Linked DNA regions of Homo sapiens: region 1 is linked to region 2. Evidence: promoter capture Hi-C in 16 types of primary human blood cells and fetal thymus (Javierre and others, 2016). All regions are on one chromosome and are shown on one strand. The core of a region is centred on a gene start or on the middle of the fragment in contact, and the rest is flanking DNA. Distances in the headings are between cores, read along the strand shown.

Evidence for each region. The method cuts DNA at HindIII sites, captures the fragments that hold promoters and counts their contacts. A CHiCAGO score of 5 or more calls a contact.
Region 1: a fragment that was not itself captured here is called in contact with the fragment with the promoter of LIN7A in region 2 in 1 of 17 cell types (neutrophils); the score reaches 5.3 in neutrophils.

The regions. Positions count from the first base shown.
Region 1 is chr12:80,859,021-80,865,017 of GRCh38, forward strand. The region is part of intron 2 of LIN7A (lin-7 cell polarity scaffold A); the gene reads right to left. It also overlaps the pseudogene LOC100420442. Among named protein-coding and RNA genes, the nearest start is that of MIR617, 29 kb to the left of the region's middle. The HindIII fragment of the contact is 2,285 bases long and covers 1,289-3,573 here.
Region 2 is chr12:80,933,759-80,939,794 of GRCh38, forward strand. LIN7A (lin-7 cell polarity scaffold A) reads right to left here and starts at 4,176. Exons shown (of 6, transcript NM_004664.4): 1 at 3,883-4,176. The coding sequence starts at 3,964. It overlaps MIR618 (microRNA 618), which reads right to left and starts at 2,075; the gene lies at 1,978-2,075. RefSeq lists a silencer at 3,304-3,513. The HindIII fragment of the contact is 1,862 bases long and covers 4,080-5,941 here.

The DNA.
Region 1 (5,997 bases), core at 1,181-3,680, 76 kb before region 2:
GAATTAAAATTATTATAGCTAATAATAAGGTTGCCAGATGTAGCAATAAAAATATTGGATGCCCAATTAAATTAGAATTTCAGATAAACAATGAATAAATTTCTAGCTTAAGTGTGTTCCATATAATATTTGACACACCGTTAATACTGCATCATAAATGAATTAAGGTTAAAAACAAGACTTATAGTTTGGGAGGTGAGAGATGTTAACAACAGTGAGTATAATTAGGGAGCAAACAATGTAATTTGATGATTGTAGGCTCAGGTTACAAAAGATAGGAAGAGGTCCAGTTTGATGTCATGGTAAAAGATGTGGGTGGGTTAATAAGTTTGATTTCAGACAATGTTGTTTGAGTCATTTTGTGATCTCTAGGAGGAGATGTTCAGTAGACAGCTGCATATGCAGGTCTAAAGCTCAGAGGGAAAATGTACGCTATAAAATATAATTTGTGAGTTATTTCTTTGTCAGAAGAAGCTTTGTGTATACTTTACCCTCTAGGAGAGATTGAGAATGAGAAAATGAGAGAATTTTGAGGGGCTCCAACATCTATTTATGTCATTTATAAGCCCAGCCTTAATCATATTGAACCTATTGAGCCAAGACATCTTTTTAAAAAAATTAAATAACTCACATATACTCCTTTTTAAATGGATTATATTTAGGGGAAAACAAATACAATAAAACCCCAAATTTTTAACAAATGATTTTAAAGTAAAAGTAATTCCTATACACTATAGAAAATATGTACAATATAGATACATATAAGCAAGAAATTAAAATGATTTATAATTCCATGCCAAAGGACAACCACTATTAACAATCTATCATACTTACTTTTAATGTTTATTAGTTTTTTAAATCAAGCCAATCATTACATACTTTTTATAATCTAATATTTTGTTTTCTTTATTTTTTACACTATTTGGAAATTATGACATGTGAGTACATATTAATGCTTATTCTACTTAAAGCTTCATATTACTCCAATTTGGATGCATCATAATTCATTTAATCAATCCTCTGATGAGGTGCTTTTTTTTCTTACAATCTGTACAGCAAGAAATAACCTTGAATATCTGTGTTTTGTAAGTGTGAGAACATCTCTTTATGATAAATTCATTGAAGTAGATTACTGAGTCAAAAGTATATGCATTTCCAGTGTTGATAGATATTGGTATATTACCCCTTTGGTAGAGTTTTGGCACCCCAGTGTGTGCCAATAATAATTATTGCATCTGTTACCGCACAGACTGCAAGAAGTTTAGAATCATGTTCAATACTGAAATAAAGCTTAGTATTTCAGAAAAATTGACATCAATGAAAGAATGGATGTGAGACAAGTCATTCAAATTGCAACACAAAATGTTGCCAAACTCATAGTCCAGATAGATGCCAACTACTCTGGCCTTTTCCTTTAGCAGAAGGATGACTAAAATAGTGCTTCAAGCAACAGAGTTACCATTCTGTAGCTCCGTTGTCCAGCATCTGTCTGTTCTGATAGAGATCACTTTCCTTTCCTGAAGAGGGAGTCTTTACAGCCCTCAAGAGTTAATTCAGGGTGGTGAATGGACCACTTCAGCCTCTCAGTAATGCTGGCAGGAATCAAAGTCTTCAGAACCCAGAACAACAGGATAAACTACATCATTCTGGAACCCAGAGCAACTGGATAAACTGCACAGGAGTGAATAGAGAGCTGAAGTTTTCAGGCGTTCATGCCTGTTGCAGATACTCTTGATGCCCAGCAGCACTTTCATTTCTGACATGACACTCTTTTCTGCCACCTCCTTTAGTAGATCTTTGATTGTGGAAATGTCATCTGAAAATGCTATCTTTGCATTAAGTTTCTTTTGAATATTCTTCTCTTCATCAACTAACCTTGAGAGAACTGCCTCTTGCTCATGATCCGCAAATATGTTCAGGTGCTCACATTTAGAGAAGGATGTCTGTATCTGGTTTTTCACCCTATTTCTCAGTTGTAAAGGTTTTCTATCTTGAGTGGCTACTAATTTTGCACTGTCTACAACTTTCCTTTCCAGAGACTTAATGTAACTGCTGAGCCTCTTCTGGTGATGAGAGGCAGCTTTCTCTCTGGGCCTCAAGTGGTGACTGACCCTGGTGGTCAGAGGGCTGAGTACACAGGAGACGTCACACCTCTAGGTCTTCCTCACAGAAAAGGGTCAGGATCCGATAGTGCTCCTTGCACAACACTTTGGTGCCTGCCTCTTCATTTTGTTCCCGGTGATGTGGAGTATCTCGGGAGTTTCAGTCGTCCTTCCCTGCAGGGTGTTGCTCCTGCAGTGGCCCTCTTGGCACTGGTGACACCGGACAGGCAAGGGAAGCTGTCCTATAAATCCACCCAGCGCTGCTTGATGGAGGAGTGACAGAAGTTGTGCCCACATTTGATGGTGACGGGGTCACTCATGTAATCCCGACAGATGGGGCAGTTGGCTTCTGCCTGGAGTCCAGGGCTGCTACAACCACCACTGGGCCATGAACGGAGGTCTGGACTAAAGTGAGTTTTCTTCAGGAAGGTTTAGTTGTGCAGATACTCTGCAGTGAGAAGCAGATACACCCTGAGATGCCACTGCCTTTACTGTCCTGACTGTCTCCTTGTCTTAATTAGTCAACACTGATGTCCCAGGGAGCCACTGATCCTTGGTTGCAAAGCGAGGTGCCCAGAGGAGCTCTGCTCATAACCTGCAGACAATCTCACATTTCCTGGGCAACTAGCTGCCCTTGGCAGCCCAGAGGATATAAAACCAATCTAAGCAATTATCTTGGTCAGAAAACAGACATGACTTAAAGATGACTAGTTCCTGGAGCAGGCAGCTCTGTGAGGCAGGTTTTTGAGAGTTGTCTCTGAAGCCAGTCTTGCACCAGATTGTATGTAACCTGATTTTTCACTTAAAATATTGTGAACACTTTCCCCACTAATTAAATATTCTTTTAGATTATTTTAAAGGAGCCATCATCAATGTGATGGTATTAGAATCATTTGAAGACTTTTAAGATAATAGTTGTGTGACCCTCAAAATAGATCTCTAAATAGAGAAATAGATGACTTGGTTATTTTCCAAAGAACTTACCAGATAGTTGAGGTTATAACTGTCTCAACTATCACCAAGTCCTTCAGCTTATACTAACCGAACAGAGAGTGAGTCACAATTTGGTAATCTGTAAAGCCTGCAAAAAGAGTTTCATCATATTTCACAATTTCCAGGAATCCTTTAAAATTATGGATCTTAACCTTTTATGTGATACAACTGTATACCTAGGTCTGACCTCTTTTCTTCAATTGATTATATTGAAAATAAGGACTATCACTGATTCTTTTTATTTGCAGGAATGTTGTATAAAGTCCCTGCAAAGACTAAATTAGCAAATTCTGAACCACTGTTTCTAGAGAAAATACATGGTTAGGTTTCTCTGAATCTCTGGTTACATTTTCACCAACAATCAATTCATAACAGTTTTATGAATGTTTTTTGTTTAAAGACATCTTATTTAATACATATTGTTGATTTGCTAACATTGAACTCAAGGCCAACAGCGCTATAATGCATGTCTGAACGAAGCTTATCTAACACGTATTTTCTCTCTAAGGCACATCATCAACTTCGTGTACTGACAAACAGTAGATAGCACTTCAGCACTATGATGAGGGGCCATTTGAAACAGCAAAATCACCAAGAAAAGGCACAACAATGTGATGAATAAGGCACTAAATAGATGGCAAAAAGCCCACTTCATTACAAGTTGTTGTAACAGGAAGGCAGAGCATTGCCTTGTTCATCCTCAGCTGGGAACTTGAGTGCATACATTAGATGACTCAAGTTTTTCTACAGAAAAAGAAGGTACAGAATTAAAGATTCCAGATTGGGCTTACCTTTACTAACACCATCCTGACTCACTGTTACCAAAATGCCAGACTATACTCTTCACAGAGAGGAGTTTTCCATTACATCTTTTCTCATGTGTTCTGTTACATTCAAGTTATGGTAAATGCACCACGCTTGGCTCTGTATAATTAATTTCACAAGATGGATGTCAAGACTATAAAACAATCACTAGGTTCTGATTTGTAGCCTAAGATGGGCTTTAGCTCTCCTGCATGTGCAGCTTTGATAGAAAGAAAGAGGAAGGAAAGGAAGAAGATATTAAGGATGCTGACTTAAGGCTGATTTCTATTAGAGTTCTATTTCAAGTTCATTATTTCAACGACTGAATAGACTCTCACAAATAATGATTTAGTTCTCTGCTTTCTTGTAGATTAAACTAGATAATTGATATAGAGGCAGTAAATATGCATAATTAAACATACTTTGTTTATAGAGGTAGAGTCTAAATCAAGTTCTAAGGTTTGATCTACAAAAAGACAGTCAATGTGTCGGCTTAAAGAAGGGAGAAAGAGAGCACATAATCACCTTTTCAAAGGTGCACATAAACTTAGCCAAGCCGCAATTAACCATAGATTTTATTTGGCTTGAATTATCCAGATTTCCCAGGCCCTTTGACCTTCTATTCTGATGAGTGTTTAATTATATGTCCTAATGACCATAATGGCACTGTCACCCAAGGAAGAGAGAAAGAAGACTCATAATGACCTCATTGGTAGTAACATGTGAAAACATATCTTGATGTAGTCTATATGATGTGGCATTTTGACATAGTCCTCTTAACATAGAAAAATTACTTTAAAGCATTTTTTTAAGGATCAAGTTATAGACACAACAGACATCTCTGGTCCTCACCCTATCCTATACCCCATCTGGTGGTATGGGTTATGATGCTTAACCATAGGGTAAGGACATTTCTTTTGCATATAAGCTGGAAACTCTTTTTTAACAGCTAACTAATGAATGATGAAAGGCTTGTTTGTTTGTTTTTTTTTAACAACATTAAAATGTTCCTTTGAAGAAAAGGCAGCACCAAATATTTACTCAACCCTCAAAATGTATCTGGAATTTTGTTTTTGCAGAAACCTCACTGAATTGAGTGAAATTTCATGTAATTTTTAAAATAAAAAGATTTGTTAAAACATGACTTATACAGATATTTTTTCATTATTTATATCTATAGAAGTCTCAAAAGACAAAGTTACACTCATAAGTTTAAGGGCGTAATACTTGCAGCAACTGTTATTATTTCTGTGTTGAAATCAGCTGACCCAGACATAAGGCTTAAGATGACATGGCAAATCAACTCCAAGACTCAATACGCAAGGCTTGACCCCACTGCTCTAACCATCTCCACTTCACTTGGGATCTGCATAAGATTTTGTTAAAGTTGTTTCCATATCAAGATGAGAAAAAAAAAGAAATGAATCACTTTATTGCTGAAAAAAAAAACAGCAAAAATGATGTGGAGAAAATAATGGCTGTTTACATTTGCCATTTTAGGATGAAAGCATTTGAATTTTTTGTTTTGAAAAATGATTTTTTTTATTTGCCAGGAAGTAGACATGTGTTTTCATTAGGAACATTGTTGGAAAATCCCTGCAAAGAGGAACATCTGCATCATTATCACTACTGTCAGAAAAATTCCCTGGCATGCAAAGCACTGAATGCGGCTTGTCTCAAGTAGCAGAGATGCTAACTCATTAAAAAGCCCAGACCTGAAAATGAACTAAACTTCATTTAACTTTTGGAAGTGATATGCCAGGTTCAATTATAGTATGGAAAAAGGCATCAAAACGCAACATTTTTTAATGTGAATAATATTTCATAAGACATTTTCTCTCTAAAAGAGAAAGTAGGTCAGTTTTATCAAAGTGAAAGAAGATGTGAATTTGAATACATTATTAACCTGTCTTTGGGGATGGCAAAAATCTGCCTTTGTACTTCCATCACCTTCAAATTAAATCCTATAAAAATCTAAGTTAGTTTGTAAAGGGGGAAAGGGAAGCTCAGAAAGTTTTAATTAGGTTGAAGTGCTTCATTAGTACTTACCCTCAATCTGGTAAATGCTATCAATTCATGTAAATGCAAAGAATCTCTC
Region 2 (6,036 bases), core at 2,926-5,425:
ACAGGACTCTTCTCAAATGTCACTGACTCAGGAGGGTGTTCCTTTACTAACACATCTAAAACAGCAGCCCCCATTTATAGCACTCTCCTTTACCCAGTTTTATTTCTTCTCCTTGGCACTTGTAGTTGTTTATGTGTGTGTTCATTGTGTGACTCTCATTAGCATGCAAATGCCATTAGATTTTATTTATTTTGTCCATTAGCACTGGCACAGTGTATAAAACAATGTTTGGCGTAAGTCTGGTGCACAATATTTATTTGTTAAATTAATTAATTAAGCCCTTACTTATCATCCATCTCTCCCATTAGACTCGTAAGGACCACAAAAGCAGAAACTTTTGTTTCTGGTATTCCTCCAGCATCTTGCATATAGAAGGTGATAAATGAATATTGAATGAATTAATATTTGCCTCTGTGTGTATTTTAATCTCCCTCTCCTAGTAGGTTCTAATTACCACAAAAAGTAGAATTATGTCTCTTTATCACACCAGTGTGTACCAATCCCACAATAGGGTCTGGCTTATGATAGGTACTCATTAAGTGAAGGATATCAAGGACTGGGACCAAAGTCAATAAGAACTTACAATGACCATAGCCACCCAGAGACCTTTACAGGGTTGATCTCAGATCTTAATGGCAGATCAAAAAGAGTTTTGGATAGGCACAGGGCCATGAAAATCTGTAATCACCTTGTTCATCCTTTTGGGGCCCAGCCTAGACCTTGAAAAAGCTTACTTCCCAGAGCAGACCCAGGAAGCTAGGTGCAGACTTCTGAGTTTCTTACTTTCAGATATATCTTTCAAATTTGGAAAGCAGTAAATCTTAATTTCGATCCCTAGCTTTGATTTGTTTGCTTAAAACATTTGCCCTGAAGACTATATCCATGTATGATGTCAAAAGGTAGCAAACAAAAATAATTCAATTGTAATATAAAAATCTCCACTAAATAGTAGAGCAACTTGAAAATATCTCTTATCATCACATTTTCATGCTTTTTCATTTGTAAAATGAAGATACCAAAAAAGAACTAGCAGCTCTAAAATTGTGGATTATATATTCAGATTTGCTGGGATGCCCTTGGGAGGCTTTGTCAAGCACCTTCTTCCCTTCCTCTCCTTTGCCCACCTGCCACAATTCCTCTTGGTTAAACATCACAGTTTTAGTGAGCTATTGTTACTGACGGCAATCCATCAAGTGTATAGGGGAAAGCTAGGTTGAGAATCTCTGGCCTATGTTATCACTATCATCCTTTCCATGGTTAAAATACTGTGAATCTATGAAATGCACCTCAGTTCACTAGGAAATCACTATATTTTAACATTGCTTAAGTTACTGCTATCCTGAGTTTACTTACACCAACTTAACATTATTTTTTTATTGTACTGTGAGTCAGGGACTATAGCAGACACTGAGAATTCAAAGATGAATTTAGAAATGGTCTCTTCCCTCACGGAGTTCTATCCAATAGGGATAGACAAATGCAACAGAGTGTGATAAATGCTTTAATGGGGCCAAAGCAGCAAGTCAATTTAGAGCGCATCAAAGGGTACCAAAGCAGCCTGGGAGAGAGGTGATCTGGAAAATCTCCCAGTAGGTGACCAAAAACTGAGTCCTAACTCTAATTAATTGAATTATAGACTGCTAAAGCTGCACAGTGTTAGAATCATCTAATTCAAACTCCTGATGTGGCACAGAGAGAATCTGATGTCCAGAGAGGCTGATGTATGCAGAGTGAGTATCAGAGTTGCAGCTAGGACCCAGATATGTAATACTGGGTTGCCTCTTTAAAAATGCACCTTTTTTGAAGGGAAATTTTTAGAACCTTTTCCTTCATCAGTTTAATAATGAAAGTAATTAATCATATTTGAATAAGATACGGAGAACAATATTTATATATATTGACTTTATGCTCAGTGGTGATGCCAATAACCCATCATCTCTTGGTTATAGATTTTCCATGAGCTGCTGATGAATTTTTTCAGACTCATCCACAGGGTAAACCTGCTTGTCTCCTGAGCTACTGCATGTACGTAATTACACTCAGAAGGACAAGTAGAGTTTGGCTGTGAACAAGAGCAAACTTTAAAAATAAATCTTAGTCCGATTAGCACCTCCTCTCATCAACCGACTGAGGCATCTAAGGGCTAAGGTAAAACCCAACATTGAAATATTTGTATTATTAGTAGTAGTGGTAGTATATAAAATGACCCAGGTATGCAATCTTCTTGGAGTTTTTGCTCCTAACATAGTCACTTGATTTGGGATGTTTAACGACTGTGATTTTGTAATGGGACAATATAAGAGCTCATTACATTAAAACATAAATACTTGGGAAGCTCATAGTTTCTGATAGCTTGCCATCTGTTTGGTTCTTACCGGCAATGGATTTATCCTGCTTAGTGCAGATGATGATATTGTGGGTAAAATCATGGATTATACAATGGATTTCTGAGGTCTTTAACTACTGTTATTAATTTTGCCAGCTTACAAATCAACATTTTCTAATATAAAATCAATTACATTTTATTTTTCAACTCTTACCCTAAGAAAGGTTGCTATGGGCACCACAGAACATCTGTTCTGGCGCCAACAGATTGCGTTAAAGTCACCCACAGTCTCTCCAAATTAAAAACCTCAAACTGAGTTCACTGGCTTTGTTACTGTACTCTCAGCAGGATGTTCTTTTGCCTTGCCCATCGTTCAGTTTAATCCTCTAGAAAGAAAATTTTTAGAGGTACATCGGACTAAATCATTTTCTTCTGAGTACACCATTTCCAAATGGCCGCCCAGGGTCCTAAATCCGGCGGCTGCGGAGAGGGACTAGAGGGTGTCCTCCTCTGCAGAGCCGTAGGACTCGAGCGCCTTCATCACTGGACGCTGGAGCCAGGAAGGAAACCCACACACTCAGGGACAGGTATAACCCCACAGGGGTGCACCAGTGAGGCCCCGATCGCAGCGGAGGACTCCATCCCTGAGCTTGTGAGGGCGTCCTGGGGAGGAAGCGAACACTTTCCCCGTTCAAGTCAGAGAGCAGGACTCACTGGGTGGCAGGTCAGAAGTTGAATTTTAACCCGACCTGCGCTTTGTCCCCGCGCCTTCCGCAGCCTGGGCGCCGCGGTGGCACCGAGCTGGGAGAGGACACGAGAGGCTGGCGCGGGAGAAGCCGAGAGTTGCTATCGACCGGGAGCTGCCGGCGGCGGGAGCAGACGCGACCCTCGCCGCTTTCGATCTCGAAGCCGCGGAGAGCCGATCTCGGCTGCTGGGGCTCGGCTCCCCGCGCTCTGCCTTGCCCTTTCGGCAGAGGGCAGCTCCCTGCCTGCTGCAGCCCCGCCACTGTGCGCCCGGCAGCCCAGGGGTGCGCCCAGCCCGCCCCCCGAGTGGCCGCCGGGACTCCAGCAGTTGGACCGACCCTCGCCCTCCGGCGCCTGGACAAACTTCCTTCCTCCCGGGCCCCTGCGCCAAGCAAGCTGACAGGCGGCTCCCTCGCCGGTCTCCTCTGGGCTCTGGCCGGGCGAGCTTGCTCTCTGCCCCTCTCCAACCCCGAGCCCCTGGCGCCTATAGCCGTCCCCGCGCAGCGGCTCCAACAAAGCCAGAGGACCGGAGACGACCCGGCGAGGGGCTGGGAGTGGCAGCGGGGACCCCAGAGCCAGAAGGAGGCGTCCCCTCGGCGGGGCGAGTACAGTGGGAAGGGGCAGCGGGAACGTAGCGGGGAGAGAAAGGGGAAGAAAGTGTTCTGTTCTCGGCGCGAACGCCTTCCTGGCTCGTCCTCGTTCCCCTTCTCCTCCTGCCTGAGCGCGTCCCATGTCCCGTTGGGAATTGGCAGGCGGGGAAGGGAGGAGGGGAGAGGGGACGCGGTGGCCTGGCGAGCGAGCCGCTCCCTTACCTCTGTCCAGGGTGAGCGGCTGGACCACTGTCAATGTCGCCATGTCTGCCGTGGGAGCCGAAGTGACGCTCGGCTTCAGCATCAGCAACCGCTCGTAGTGAGAAAAAAAGGAGGAGATTGGGGGCGGGGGTGGAGAGGGAAGACGGAAAGGAGGGGGAGGAGGGGGAAGGAAGGAAGGTGGTGGTGGTGGAGAAGAAAGCTTGGGTGGGTTGGTAGCCAGATGGAGACGCAACTGTTCCGCGGCGGCAGATCTTCAGTTGCGGTGCGGAGCTGAGCAGGTATCCGAGAGCGACTGCATCGCCGGGCTCTGGGAGGGAAGGCTCTGCCCTAGAACTTTGCTATTCCACCCCCAGGAGCGCTGGGTGGGTGTAGCTGGCGGGTTGCTTCCTTTCAACTTTCCACTCTAATAAAATGGTCAGAATATACGTGTGTGCATGCGGGTGCGTGTGTGTATAAGGGGAAGAGAGAGGATGGAAAGGGGATATGGGGAAGGGAGTGGGAGATGAGTTTTCTCAGATTAAGAGAAATTGCCAATCCAATAATCCCATCCCCTTTAGAGAGAAAATGCTTCCATTATCAGAAATGTTTGGGATGTAATTACATTTGCAGTTAATTTCTGTTGAAGTTTTTCGGAATGTTGACCTATAACGGCATATAAAGATAACTGACTAAAGGCCAGCGTTCCATCAGTAGATGTTCATTTAGGACCTGAGTATATTGCCTGGAGAAAAAAAAAAAAAAAGGCAAACCTCTTAAAAGTGCTTCAAAATAAAAAACGTGTAGGTAAGTTTCTATCGCTAAGTTTTTCTTTTTCAAGCCACTGTTAATACATTACCAATTCAGTAAATGTAGCTTAGAAACAAGTACAGTGTTCAGATTTTCTCCGAATTTTTTACATACCACATCCTGTAAACATGCCCCACTCCCCCTCACCCACCCAGCAACAAAAACTTTGCTCTTAATGTCCAAACTGATTTTGGTTGTCTATGACTACGTTTGAAAAATATGTACCTAGCACTTTTCATGTTGATTTCTAACCAGTGGTTCAGAGATGCCACTTATCGATTGATTAACATATATGCCAGGAATTGAGATAGAAGAGTTACATTGCCTTGTGCCACGCCTTGATTTAGGAGTTCAATTTAGTCTCCGACTTCCTGTAGCCTGTAATCTAGTGGGAGATGGTGTTATTAAAAACCTGACTTTAGAGTCAGTTGATCAGGATTAAATTACGAGAGCCTTCAAATACTGGCTGTGACCTCTTCGCCCCAATAAAAAGGCTACTTTCACTATCTTGTCATAGTAGGGATTCATTTCCTGACTACGAAATCAAGAAACATAAAGAAACCTTCTATAAGCTGAATAGGGGTGACTGTGGGTGCAGGATTGGAAATGACAAAGCTGCCTCCATCTTGTTTCCTGTGACAGAGCTGAATTGTTTGGGCTAACAATAAACTCTAAAAGGCAGATACTGTTTTATAGCAAAATATTTGCATATAATTGATGCCATTTTCTTCTGATTACAGATAGGATTTCTGAAGGTCTTTTTCATTTTATAGTCTACAATTGAATTTTAAAAAACAACATTTCACCAATGTGGGAAAGCCAAAGATGATTGGCCATATATAGACTTAACAGACCCTAAGAACAAACCTAAAATAGTAGTTCGATATGTTTATTTTTATTTAGTATTTAAGAAAGAATGCTGATCTTGACATTTGAGTCTTAGTCATGTACTCTTCGGAAGTCACACAATCTCTCACTGATCCTGTTTCCTCCTCTGTCATACAATGGAAATAATATCATTCAATGTCACAGAGATCTGTCATATGAGGAAACTAATTCTACCTTGCAATCTCACAGAGTTTTATGAGGGTCTAATGGAGTCATACATGTGACTGTGCTTTGAAAACAGTAAAGAATATACAAATTTATTTATACAAGCATACATCCCCTGGAACCGTGTGGTAAGCTCTGTGCTAGGTGCTAACCATGCAAAGATTAATGAGATGGCCCCCTTTCTGCCCAGTCTTGCTTGGGAGACAGTGAGCAAACCATAAGCTTCTGTGCAGTACTCTAAGCACTATTAAAAGGAAGTGCCCTCGGTGGCCAGAGGTTGCAAAAACAACTTTGGTTTTTTACCGTTATTCACAT